Linked DNA regions of Homo sapiens: regions 2 and 3 are each linked to region 1. Evidence: promoter capture Hi-C in 16 types of primary human blood cells and fetal thymus (Javierre and others, 2016). All regions are on one chromosome and are shown on one strand. The core of a region is centred on a gene start or on the middle of the fragment in contact, and the rest is flanking DNA. Distances in the headings are between cores, read along the strand shown. Region 1 holds the start of ADAMTS9 (ADAM metallopeptidase with thrombospondin type 1 motif 9). Region 2 overlaps ADAMTS9-AS2 (ADAMTS9 antisense RNA 2). Region 3 overlaps ADAMTS9 (ADAM metallopeptidase with thrombospondin type 1 motif 9).

The links. The method cuts DNA at HindIII sites, captures the fragments that hold promoters and counts their contacts. A CHiCAGO score of 5 or more calls a contact.
Region 2: a contact is called between a fragment that was not itself captured here and the fragment with the promoter of ADAMTS9 in region 1, in 1 of 17 cell types (endothelial precursors). The highest score is 5.2, in endothelial precursors.
Region 3: a fragment that was not itself captured here is called in contact with the fragment with the promoter of ADAMTS9 in region 1 in 1 of 17 cell types (endothelial precursors); the score reaches 5.1 in endothelial precursors.

What each region holds. Positions count from the first base shown.
Region 1 is chr3:64,686,128-64,689,684 of GRCh38, reverse strand. It overlaps ADAMTS9 (ADAM metallopeptidase with thrombospondin type 1 motif 9), which reads left to right and starts at 1,685. Exons shown (of 40, transcript NM_182920.2): 1 at 1,685-2,142; 2 at 2,717-3,117. The coding sequence starts at 2,028. All of the region lies in intron 1 of ADAMTS9-AS2 (ADAMTS9 antisense RNA 2), which reads right to left. The HindIII fragment of the contact is 3,589 bases long and covers 1-2,668 here.
Region 2 is chr3:64,919,110-64,922,666 of GRCh38, reverse strand. All of the region lies in intron 4 of ADAMTS9-AS2 (ADAMTS9 antisense RNA 2), which reads right to left. The region is part of intron 2 of LOC105377124 (a long non-coding RNA gene); the gene reads left to right. Among named protein-coding and RNA genes, the nearest start is that of ADAMTS9, 230 kb to the right of the region's middle. The HindIII fragment of the contact is 1,645 bases long and covers 1,195-2,839 here.
Region 3 is chr3:64,534,167-64,537,723 of GRCh38, reverse strand. All of the region lies in intron 37 of ADAMTS9 (ADAM metallopeptidase with thrombospondin type 1 motif 9), which reads left to right. Among named protein-coding and RNA genes, the nearest start is that of ADAMTS9-AS1, 25 kb to the left of the region's middle. The HindIII fragment of the contact is 2,727 bases long and covers 545-3,271 here.

The sequences.
Region 1 (3,557 bases), core at 436-2,935:
TTATAATAAAAAGAAAGATTGTGTATTAGAAGAAACGTATTTTAGTGAATTAATTTGGAGGTTCAAGGTTTAAATGCCATTCTCTAAAAATCTCTAATTGTGCACAATACAGATGTTATTTTTCCATCCTTACATTTTACATATCCATTATGAAATTCCAGTAATAAGACGATGGTAACATTATCAATTTGGGTTAACAATTATTTAGCAAATTCGTCTTGCCAAGTCATTTTTACCCTTCACCAGAAGAAATATATGTATTAGTATCTCAAGAATAGTTGACATTGCTAGCATATTGCGATTTGGTTCCTGGTGTTGGCAATCTTTGGTATTTCTAGTCCTGAGTGCTAACCTACCACGCAACAGAACCTCAACCCCCGTTCTAGGATACTTGGGCAAATATATATTTATTAGTCATATATTTATATATTTTTAACGATATTGTCATGTCTTTCCTCTTGAAATTATCTTGAAATTCTATCTTCCTGAGGGCTGGTTAAAGAAAAGGCGCCACTGAACCACCCAAGATTGAACAATTCACACACACACACACACACACACACACACACACACACACGAAGGTGTAGCTTGAAGCGCCTGCTTTCAGTCTTTCCCAGTCTTTCCAAGCATCTCTCAGGCTGAAAGCAAGCGGAAGTGATTGAGAAATCCCTCCAGGGACTGGTGCCTCCCACAGGGATCTACAACTTTACACTCCATCCCCCCTTCCCCTCCCATCTCTAAACCCCCTGGTAGTGAGGGGCGCCAGAGTCCCCGCCCCTTCTTGCTGCCAAAATTTGTTCTTAACCTTTTTTGGGGCAGGGGACCTACAGAATGCTATGGACCCTCCATGAATGGTGACAGAGGTTGGTGGAAAGCACAGCTTAAATATTTTGCGAAATTTTCAAGAGACCACGTATTAGAAACACACTCCGACCTGCAGGATTAAGAACCCCATTTCTAAAACTCTTGACTTGGGGTGATTAAATCGAGAGCGGAGCTCAGGTGCCAAATCTCTTCCCGAATGAAAAAGTGTAGGAAGGGAAGGCGCTCCGGCGCTGGGCCACTTTCACTTGTAAGAAACCAAAAGATGGGGACTGGTGGCAAGAGATGGGGACGGAAGAGAAAGGAAAGGAAAAGGAGAAATGTGAGAAACAGACAGGGACACGGTGGGGCGGGGAGAAGACAGACATCACAGGGGAAAATGGGGAGAAGGGACAGAGTCCGAGAGGCACAGCAGCAGAGAGACAAGGGGGAGGAGGAAAAAGAGACTCGGAAGGGAGGAGAGAGAGGAGAGGAGAGGAAAAAGACGAGAGGGGAAGTGGCTGCACGCGCGCCAGGAAAGGGAGAGAACTTTCCCTGCTTTCCCTCCCCGGGGCAGGGAATCTCAGAAAACCCCACTTCAGCGAGGTGGCGGGGACCAGGAACAGCTGCCCCGGCGCTGGTGACGCCTCTGGCCTCCGCCTCTTGCAGCCGGCAGGGCCTCCGGCTGCGAGTCCCGCACGGGCCGGCCGAGGAGGGGACATGGTCTGGAAGGAGGCGGTCCCCGTTCGTCTCGCTTTCTCCTCCCCTCTCCTCCTCTTAGAGGCGTGCACCGGGGGCATTTGAGAGGCTGTGGACCCGCGGCCCCCCCGCCTCCGCCCCCCCAGCCCCCCATTCAAGAAGCCGCTCAGCTATCCCGGCCAGCACAGGGCGCCCGGCGCGCCTCGGAGCGCAAGTTCCTCGCCTTCTCCTGCCCGCTCGCTGGGCATTATGCGGCCAAGCAGCCGAGCCCCAGTCCTCCTCCTCCTCCTGCTCCTCCGGCTCCTCCTGCGGCCCGAGCGGCTCAGCTCTCGGCAGGCGGCGGCGTTGCTCAGCCGAGCGCAGACGGGACCCTCGCAGCGAGACCTCAGCGACTCCTAAAGTCAAAAGTTGGCGGCGGGCGCCGGGCTCCGCGCGCTCTCCACGGCCGCTGCCTCGCGTCGCCGCCGCAGCCAAGGAGGGCAGGAGGGAGGGGGGTGGGGGCAGCGGAGGGAGGGGTGGGAAGCACCATGCAGTTTGTATCCTGGGCCACACTGCTAACGCTCCTGGTGCGGGACCTGGCCGAGATGGGGAGCCCAGACGCCGCGGCGGCCGTGCGCAAGGACAGGCTGCACCCGAGGCAAGGTAACCAGGCTCCGGCCCCCGGGACCCCGCCGGCCCCGACGCCGCCTCCCGGTCCTCGCTCCTGGGCAGGGGCACCCCGCAGCGGAGGCTTCTCTCCTTTTCCTAGAAAGAATTATCTCCCGCTTTGCAGCCTCTCCCTTCTTTGGGTCATCCCCAACCAATTGCTAGGGAGGGACACTATGGAAACGAATTTAGGCAACCCCCCCCTACCTTGCTGTTGCCAGATATATCCCCATCCCCACTCCCACGCCGCAAACTAAAGTAACTTAGTAATTGGGGGCACCAGATAGCGTCATGTTTTATTTTATTCAGGTTATTTATCAATATCTGAAATCATATATATTTTGACTTGTTAATTGTCTGGCTCGGAATAGTGTATCCTCAGCACCTAGCACAGGTCCTGTTACTGGCACATAGTAGGTGCTCAGCAAATATTTGTCCACTGATTAAGGGTGAAGGGATTGACTCGAATGGGCTGGAAAATAAGGTCAGAACAAAGTCCCCACCTTCGTTTTAAATTAAAGCTTAAGGAAAAATGAATTATTGGTTCATATACCTCTGCTTCTCTCCGCAGTGAAATTATTAGAGACCCTGAGCGAATACGAAATCGTGTCTCCCATCCGAGTGAACGCTCTCGGAGAACCCTTTCCCACGAACGTCCACTTCAAAAGAACGCGACGGAGCATTAACTCTGCCACTGACCCCTGGCCTGCCTTCGCCTCCTCCTCTTCCTCCTCTACCTCCTCCCAGGCGCATTACCGCCTCTCTGCCTTCGGCCAGCAGTTTCTATTTAATCTCACCGCCAATGCCGGATTTATCGCTCCACTGTTCACTGTCACCCTCCTCGGGACGCCCGGGGTGAATCAGACCAAGTTTTATTCCGAAGAGGAAGCGGAACTCAAGCACTGTTTCTACAAAGGCTATGTCAATACCAACTCCGAGCACACGGCCGTCATCAGCCTCTGCTCAGGAATGGTAAGTGGGCGCGCGCCACCTCCTCTCCCCTTCCGCCTCCTCGCCCGCTTCTAGAAGACTTAATTGTCCTCTAAGCCTAGAGACCCTCACTGTGGCGAGGCTCCGCTCCTCTCCGGCGTTAAATATCAGCTAGAAACTCGTATGGTTTGGGTAGCTAGCTCTGTGCGTGCGAGTACACTGGCGTGGAGCGCACACACCCGCCCCCAGGGGCTTCTGGATGTTTCAGAGCTTTCTGGAGTTTGGACTCGGTTCAGCGGCGCGTTGCCCAACGCTGCGAGGCGGCCTGGAAGTCAGTTTCCAAACTCGGAGAAAGTTACTGGAGTTGCGGTTCCCTGCAGCAAACTTGGCCACCCGGGAGCGGAGCCGCTGAGCGCAGGGCGGACCAGACTCCTTATTGGTGCGCCTTGCATCGGGGATGTGGGGCTGAGGATCCCCTGCCC
Region 2 (3,557 bases), core at 768-3,267, 230 kb before region 1:
TTTAAAAAATATTTAGAGTAAGACCAGATTTTTAAAAATAAAAATGGTAAAAACATTATTGTTAGATCATGGAATTGTGGGTGATTTTCAAAAAATAATCTTTAATAAAGCTTTTATGATTGTTCACTCAAAAGGTGAAAAGCCTGCTGAAGTTCCGGGTTTCCTTCTTGGCCCATTACTTAGGAATTACTCATTTCCCCATTTTTGGAAAAAAAAAAAAATACTTGTGTGTAGGACCCATTTCCTACCAGGAATTGATTTAAAAAAAAACTATGAATCAAGCTTGAAAAAGAGTTAAGGCTAGTTGACTGTGCTTCCGGGTCTATTTTAAAAGGAAAGGGGTGCTTTTCCACTTTTAAGGGAATTCAGTGAAAAAGTACAGGAGTGGTCCATTTCCAGTCCTGGCAAGCAGATCAATGTTCAGAGCATCTGTGGATCAACTGGCTGGCACAAAAACAGAGTGGCTAGATTAGCTTCATCACCTTACTCAGTGGCTTAGCTCAAACGCTTAAGGCATTTTTCAGAGTGCATTGGACCCAGGACTGAGTTTGGATAACACCTTAGAATTATTAGAGAAATCATATACGCACCTTGGTTTTTGTCCCAGAGAGAAAACATGGGCCCCCAAGGCCCTGTTTCCCCTTTGCAAGGTGTTAGCTGCAAACATGCCACCAGCAGACTGTGGGTTAGACTAAGCATAAAGCATTCCTCAGGCTTTTCAAGGAACACAATAGCACATGATCCCTTTGAGATTTGAAGTCCATCTTCAAGCATCCATCCATTCTTCTTCTACCTACATACATCATCAGATCAAAATGTGCCCCATACTGAGAGCTGAAAAATGTTTTGTAAGGAAACTGCAGCGGTATTGAGTCAGAATGTCGAGGCAGCACATGCAGCTTTAATTTGGATTAGGATGACCCAGATAAAAAAAAAAAAAAATTGTGTAGTCTTTCCAGATCCGCCGTCCTCCCCATCCACAAAAAGGAGTAGCTGCAATTTCCCAATTTTTGTTCCCCAACAGGTAACTTTTTTAGCATCCTAAAGAGCATCCCAATGGGCAGTCTTTTATTAAATGCCTACTATGCTCATTTATTGCAAAGGTATGCCTCAAACGGGGAGAAACTGGTAATTTTTCTAGCAAGCAGACTCTTGGCAAATGTTTCTGAGGTAAATCAGGATTTATTTGAAGCTTAAGACAGAGGATGTGGGCTCCAGATGGTACTTGTATGAGTGCAAACTTTTAAGTAAAACAGGGCTGACCTCAGAGTGTAAGGAGCACGTTTTTGCAGATTATTAGACCATCCGTCACTTGAGGACATTTGAATAATGTCTTTCATAGGAAATTGGGGAAATTATGTGCCTCTTTTTGAAGGTTTCAATTCTGAAAGAATATGCTCATGAGGCATTCATTGATTTCAGAAGGTGGACCCTCAGGGTATGTAAAAGGTGTGCTGAAATCCTAAAAAATGCATGATCCCCCTCAACAACCATGATCAATCGCTGCATTAAAATAATAAATAAATGAAAGACTATTTCCATGTGTTGGTGTAGAAAGCATATGTACAATGGCAGGCTCCAGAGATTCAGGGCAGATCTACTGAAGTTCTACTTGGAAGATCCCAAAGCATTTTGAGAGACAGATAAAACGTATACTTTGAGGACTTTGAAATCAACAGTCACATCCCTGGAATGCCTGGATTTAGACTCAGAAGCACAATGTTTTTTGTGCTTTAAACATCCTTCTTTCCCTTTCCTCCTGGCCAAATCTTTTTCACTCTTCAAGATTTTCTTGGACAAAGCCTTGTTCACCCAAGGTGTCACCTGCTTTTCTCCATGACAACCCCACTGTCATTATATGGCTGCCTCCCCACATGCCTGTGAGTACCCTGATGTCCGGGAACAAGTCTTACTCCTCTCTGTACCACATAGCACCTCTCACAGAGGCCACACAGAATACAGCCTAAGGTGGTTCTGGCTGAAATAAACTAAAAAGGGAGAAAGACTTCTCCAGGACATTAATCATTAATTCATTTCTCATTTCTTTTCTTTTGTGGACCCAAAGAGACACAATGAGAGACACTTGATGATTACCTAGGAAAGTTCTGGAATAAAGCTCAGGAGTCATCTGGAAAAGTTCTTGAAAGCTAGTATTAGGCAGTAGTGCAGTCATATGGATGTATGGCATTTGGTAGTCAAACAGGTTTAAACTACAAGTACTTACATTTGATCCAACAAAACTTACTAGGTGCCCATTGTGTTACATAGTAGACTGTGTACAGGGTGCTGGATTGAGGAAGATGAATGGGCCTGCCACTGGAGTCTCATAGTCTCCCAGCAAAAACTAAAAGGGAGGTAAATAACTAAAATATAATGTCATATGTGCTATTAATAGAGTCATAAACAAGGTACTATAGCAGAGATTCAAATAGATGTCAGCTGTTAACTATAGTCAATTTGTTGAGACTGACTGCTTTGGAATACTGTATTGAAGATTCTCCGGTCCTTGAGTTTCACTGAAAAAGGGAGCTGTGATCAATTAGTAATGTCTGCCAGAAGTGGAAGTGAGGGGATTTGTGGCTCAACTGCCATGTGTTTATCATCAGAACCTTACCTGTAGAAGAAAGGGTAACAGAGAAGACATCCAGGAGGAGTAGGCATTTGCATTCTATAGCATACCATATTCTTAAATTGAGCTAAAGAGTATTAAGAGGGTAAACTCAGGCACAATATAATTTTTAAAGAGTTTATATGAATAAATAGTGATTCATGAATCCGGGAACTCCAAACCAAAAGTGGTTCAGAAACTCCACCAAGGGAAGACAAGGGGGAAGAAGCTTTTATAGGATGAACATGGAAGTAGCGCAGAGAAAATATTTCACTGGTTACAGTTATACAGTTGCCTTATTTGATCAATCCCCGGAAAGTTTGTAGTTATATAATCCTAAGTTTGTTTGCTGCTTCTTACTGGTTGAGCTTAAGTTCTATTTTTCTCTAATACAGGCATTTTTAAAAAATAGTTCAAATTAAGTTTCACTTATGCTTGCAAATCACGCAAGGTTGAGGCCTAACTGGCTTTGTCCACTCAGGTATTCTTCAGGCCTGGTTCCCATTTTAAATTTGCTTTAACAAGGGTCATGTCAAAAAAGCAGACAGTCAAGTTTAAATCCAGACTTTGCTTTCTGCAAGTTACTATGCATTTCTAAGCCTCATTGGCCACCAAAGTGAAGTGGAGGCAATAATACATCCTTATTGTGTGGATTAATGGGAAAACACCTAGCAAAAAGCCCAGCCCTCAGAAGATGCTTAAAAAATGATAGTAATTATTGCTACAATGATTATGGACTTCCTAAACTTCCTTGGTATGATGACATCTCAGCTTTGCTTTCTGCTCACTCCAATGAGAGACTCATTTGCATTTGAAAGTGCAAGAAAATGGTTAAATTTTTATCTCATTAAAACCACAAACTCAATGGACAGGACAGGAAGAGATAAGATAATGAACTGCTTTCTTTCTGGCACAGTTTAGCAACACAAAAATAATCCTCATTCCCAAA
Region 3 (3,557 bases), core at 659-3,158, 150 kb after region 1:
TGAACCTTCAAAAGTCTGAAGACTGGGATTCTGTGACGCGTTCAGAATCCCAAGCCCTGTCTCCATAGGATGGATTTACCCCCAACTACAGAGAACGTCCGAAGACAAACACATCTGAACGTTGTTTTAACGAGGCGTTTTTTCGGCCTCAAGCTTTAGAAGAGCATTGCTAAACGTTTTAGAGAAGTGGAGAGGAAGCTCTCAGGAGAGAAGGAAAATAAACAAAGGACATAATGGTAAAAAGAGCCTTTCTTCCATTACCCAGGAATCAAAAACTTTTGAAGTACAGTTTTTTTTAGGGCAATTGATGGCTTCAAAAACCCCATTGGTATCTGTTGCATTTTAGTGGCTAACAGATTGGCCCTGTCCTGCCTTTTTCAAATGTCTCAGGATTTTCTTGTTTCTATATGCACATCCTTTGGGAAGCTTAAGTAAATGAAAAGTAACTTGCATTCATTTATTTTAATAATTCAGAGACAAATGAACTGATTGATTTGCTAAATCCTGACAATGAAGCAATTCCTAAATGAGAAAACCCAAAGCTTGAGAGAGGCTAATTTGTATTTTTTCCCAGCTCATTCTTCAAACCATATTGGGTACTTTAAGAATTCAATTCCTTAGACACATATTGAGCACCAGCTACACTGATGCAAGATGTGAGTTTTTCAAATCAGTTTTCCAGGAAAAGGTTTGTAGAAAGCGTGATTGTGGAGACTGCTTCGGAGTAGGTGGTTCAGCCTTTGACCTAGTGATTGCACAGAAATCAAAGCAGAATGATGTTGTGTTTGAGAATTTCTTTCTTTTACCTCATTGACCACTATTGCTTTGTGGATGTATTTATTAATAAGAGTGGATTCCCCGACAGCCCTCATCTTGAAACATAACCAGAATATTTTTTATCCTGATGACAGTAGATGTGACACTATTATTATTGATGGTATTAATAGCTAGCATTTATTATGCGTCTTTGCTTTAGTCACTGTACTCAGTATTGTCTACTCAATGTAGCATTTAAATCACCACAGTATTCTATGAAAATGCCTCCTTTTTAAAGAGGAGGAGGGTAAGGAGTAGAAATTGGGAGGATTTGCCCAAACCTACACAGCTGCCGCTCAGTAGAGTCTGGATTTGAACCTAAGTGTGTCTGAATTCATATCCATGATAGTAGACATGTCTTTTTGATTCTGTTTTCAGGCAAGATTTCTGCAACATTTGCTCCTGTACAACAGAAAACAGGATTATCCTTTGGTCTAAGCACATCTTTTGCAAACCTTTACGGACCAACTAGTAAACGTATAACTCTCAATCACTCTTCTTTAGAATAGGCAACAGAAGGTGGTATTTACAACTCATGTGCCCTTTAGACCTTGAAGATAAGGCCTTTAAGGGCAAAGATGTCCCAGAGCAGAGCCAGAAAGAACATTAGGTCTTTACTTCTCTGGTGGAACTCAACTTTCAGAGTGCTAACAATCAGCTAGGACATTTGCTGAAATGCAGATCCCTAAACTGGAAAGGGCAGAAGGAGAATGAGGAGGATGATCTCCTGTTGCATCTGGGTTCATCAACCCCTCTGGGAAGGCAGACTTAGTAGACGTATATATTGAGCATGTTCAGACACTGGACGCCCAGGTCGGCTGGGGGCATTGTCCAGAAAGAAGCTGGGTCAGCCGCCTGGACCTCCGGAAAACTTCAGTGCCAAAGCAGATCAAGTCTCCTTTCTCTTGCAGTGCAGGTGGGACAGGCAGTCTGAGTGGAAAGCAGAATGGAGGGAGAAAAGAGGGACATTCTTGGCACTAGGATGGCCTGGGCACTTTGAGTTATGTGGACCCACTCCTGGGGGCAGGAATGATAGTAAGATAAGAAAATTTTGGGGGGAGGGGGTGGCAGGTGCGGTGGGTCATGCCTGTAATCCCAGCACTTTGGGAGGCTGAGGGAGGTGGATCACTTGAGGTCAAGACCAGCCTGGCCAACATGGTGAAACTCCATCTCTACCAAAATAAAAATTAGCTGGGCGTGGTGGTGCACACCTGTAGTCCCAGCTACTCAGAAGGCTGAGGTAGGAGAATCATTTGAACCCGGGAGGCAGAGGTTGCAGTGAGCCAAAATTATGCGACTGCACTCCAGCCTAGGTGACAGAGTGAGACCTTGTCTCAAAAAAAAAAAAAAAAAAAGAAAAGAAAAGAAAAGAAAATGGCCAATGGAATAATGCAACATACAGAATCCGGTGTCTGAGGGGGCTTCAGTGCAGCTACAATCAAAAACACCTGAGCATGGCAGCCATGCCACATAAGAACCATGAACCTCTGTAGCATATTGTCATAAAAATGTCATATGTATATATATGTGAGATGGAATCTCACTCTGTTGCCCAGGCTGGAGTGCAGTGGCACAATCTGGGCTCACTGCAACCTACACTTCCTGCCTTCAAGCTATTCTCCTGCCTCAGTCTCCCGAGCATCTGGGATTACAGGCACACACCACCATGCCCAGCTAATTTTTGTATTCTTAGAAGAGATGGGGTTTCACCACGTTGGGCCAGGCTGGTCTTGAACTCTCAGCCTCAGGTGATCCACCTGCCTCAGCCTCCCAAAGTACTAGGATTACAGGTGTGAGCCACCACACTCAGCCCAAAAATATTTTTTAAATATTACCTACTGTCTGCCAGGTAATGCGTGACGTGCATTGTGCCTTCTGTCTAATCACCTCCTATTCACAGGTTAAGTCTTACTAATCCATTTTACAGATGATCTCCTTGCCTGAGGTCATGCTGAAAGTAAAGAAGGGAGCAAGATTCTAGGGTAAATCTACCCTTTGTACCAGGTTTTCAATCAGCCTCAGCACTTTTCGGGCTGGAGAATTCTCTATTGTGGGCTGTCCTGTGCATCGCAGCAGCATCCTTGGTCTCTACCCGCCAGATGCCAACAGCAGCACCATTCCCTGCCCCCCCACAGTTGTGACAAACAAAAATGTTTCCAGACATTGCCAGATTTCCCCTGGGGTCAAAATCGTGCCCTGTTGAGAACCACTGATTTAGTCCAAACTAAGTCCTCTGGTCACCTCTATCTTGTGGAATCTAGCACTCCAGAAGTGTTTATAAACTTTTGTTAGTCAATATTTATGGAACTGGCATTGAGAGACCTCTAAGCTACACTTAGTCCTGGAAATCTTAATTGAGGAGCTGGGATATAATATTTAAGTGGCTAGTCGTATGTTACAAACCATAGCTGATTCAATAAACAAAGCAATAGTAAGGCCCTGCTCTCAATAAGCTTACTGTTACATTGAAGAGATCACACGAACACTTACAAAACAATTAGAAAATGTAAGACAGATACCATCTTTTTGCATATCTACTAAGCGCCAGCCATAGCTGATTTCTTTTAGTCCTCTGTACGGTGCTCAGAGGGAAGAGAGTTTTAGTGCTTTCCATTTTACAGATGAATAAACTGAGGTTCCAAGAGGTGAGAAAAGATCTGGCCAGGATCCAATCACAGGTGAAAGAATTTTTCTTACACGCGGGTCTGATCAGCTGTGAGCTCCTCCTTGCCTCTCTTCTT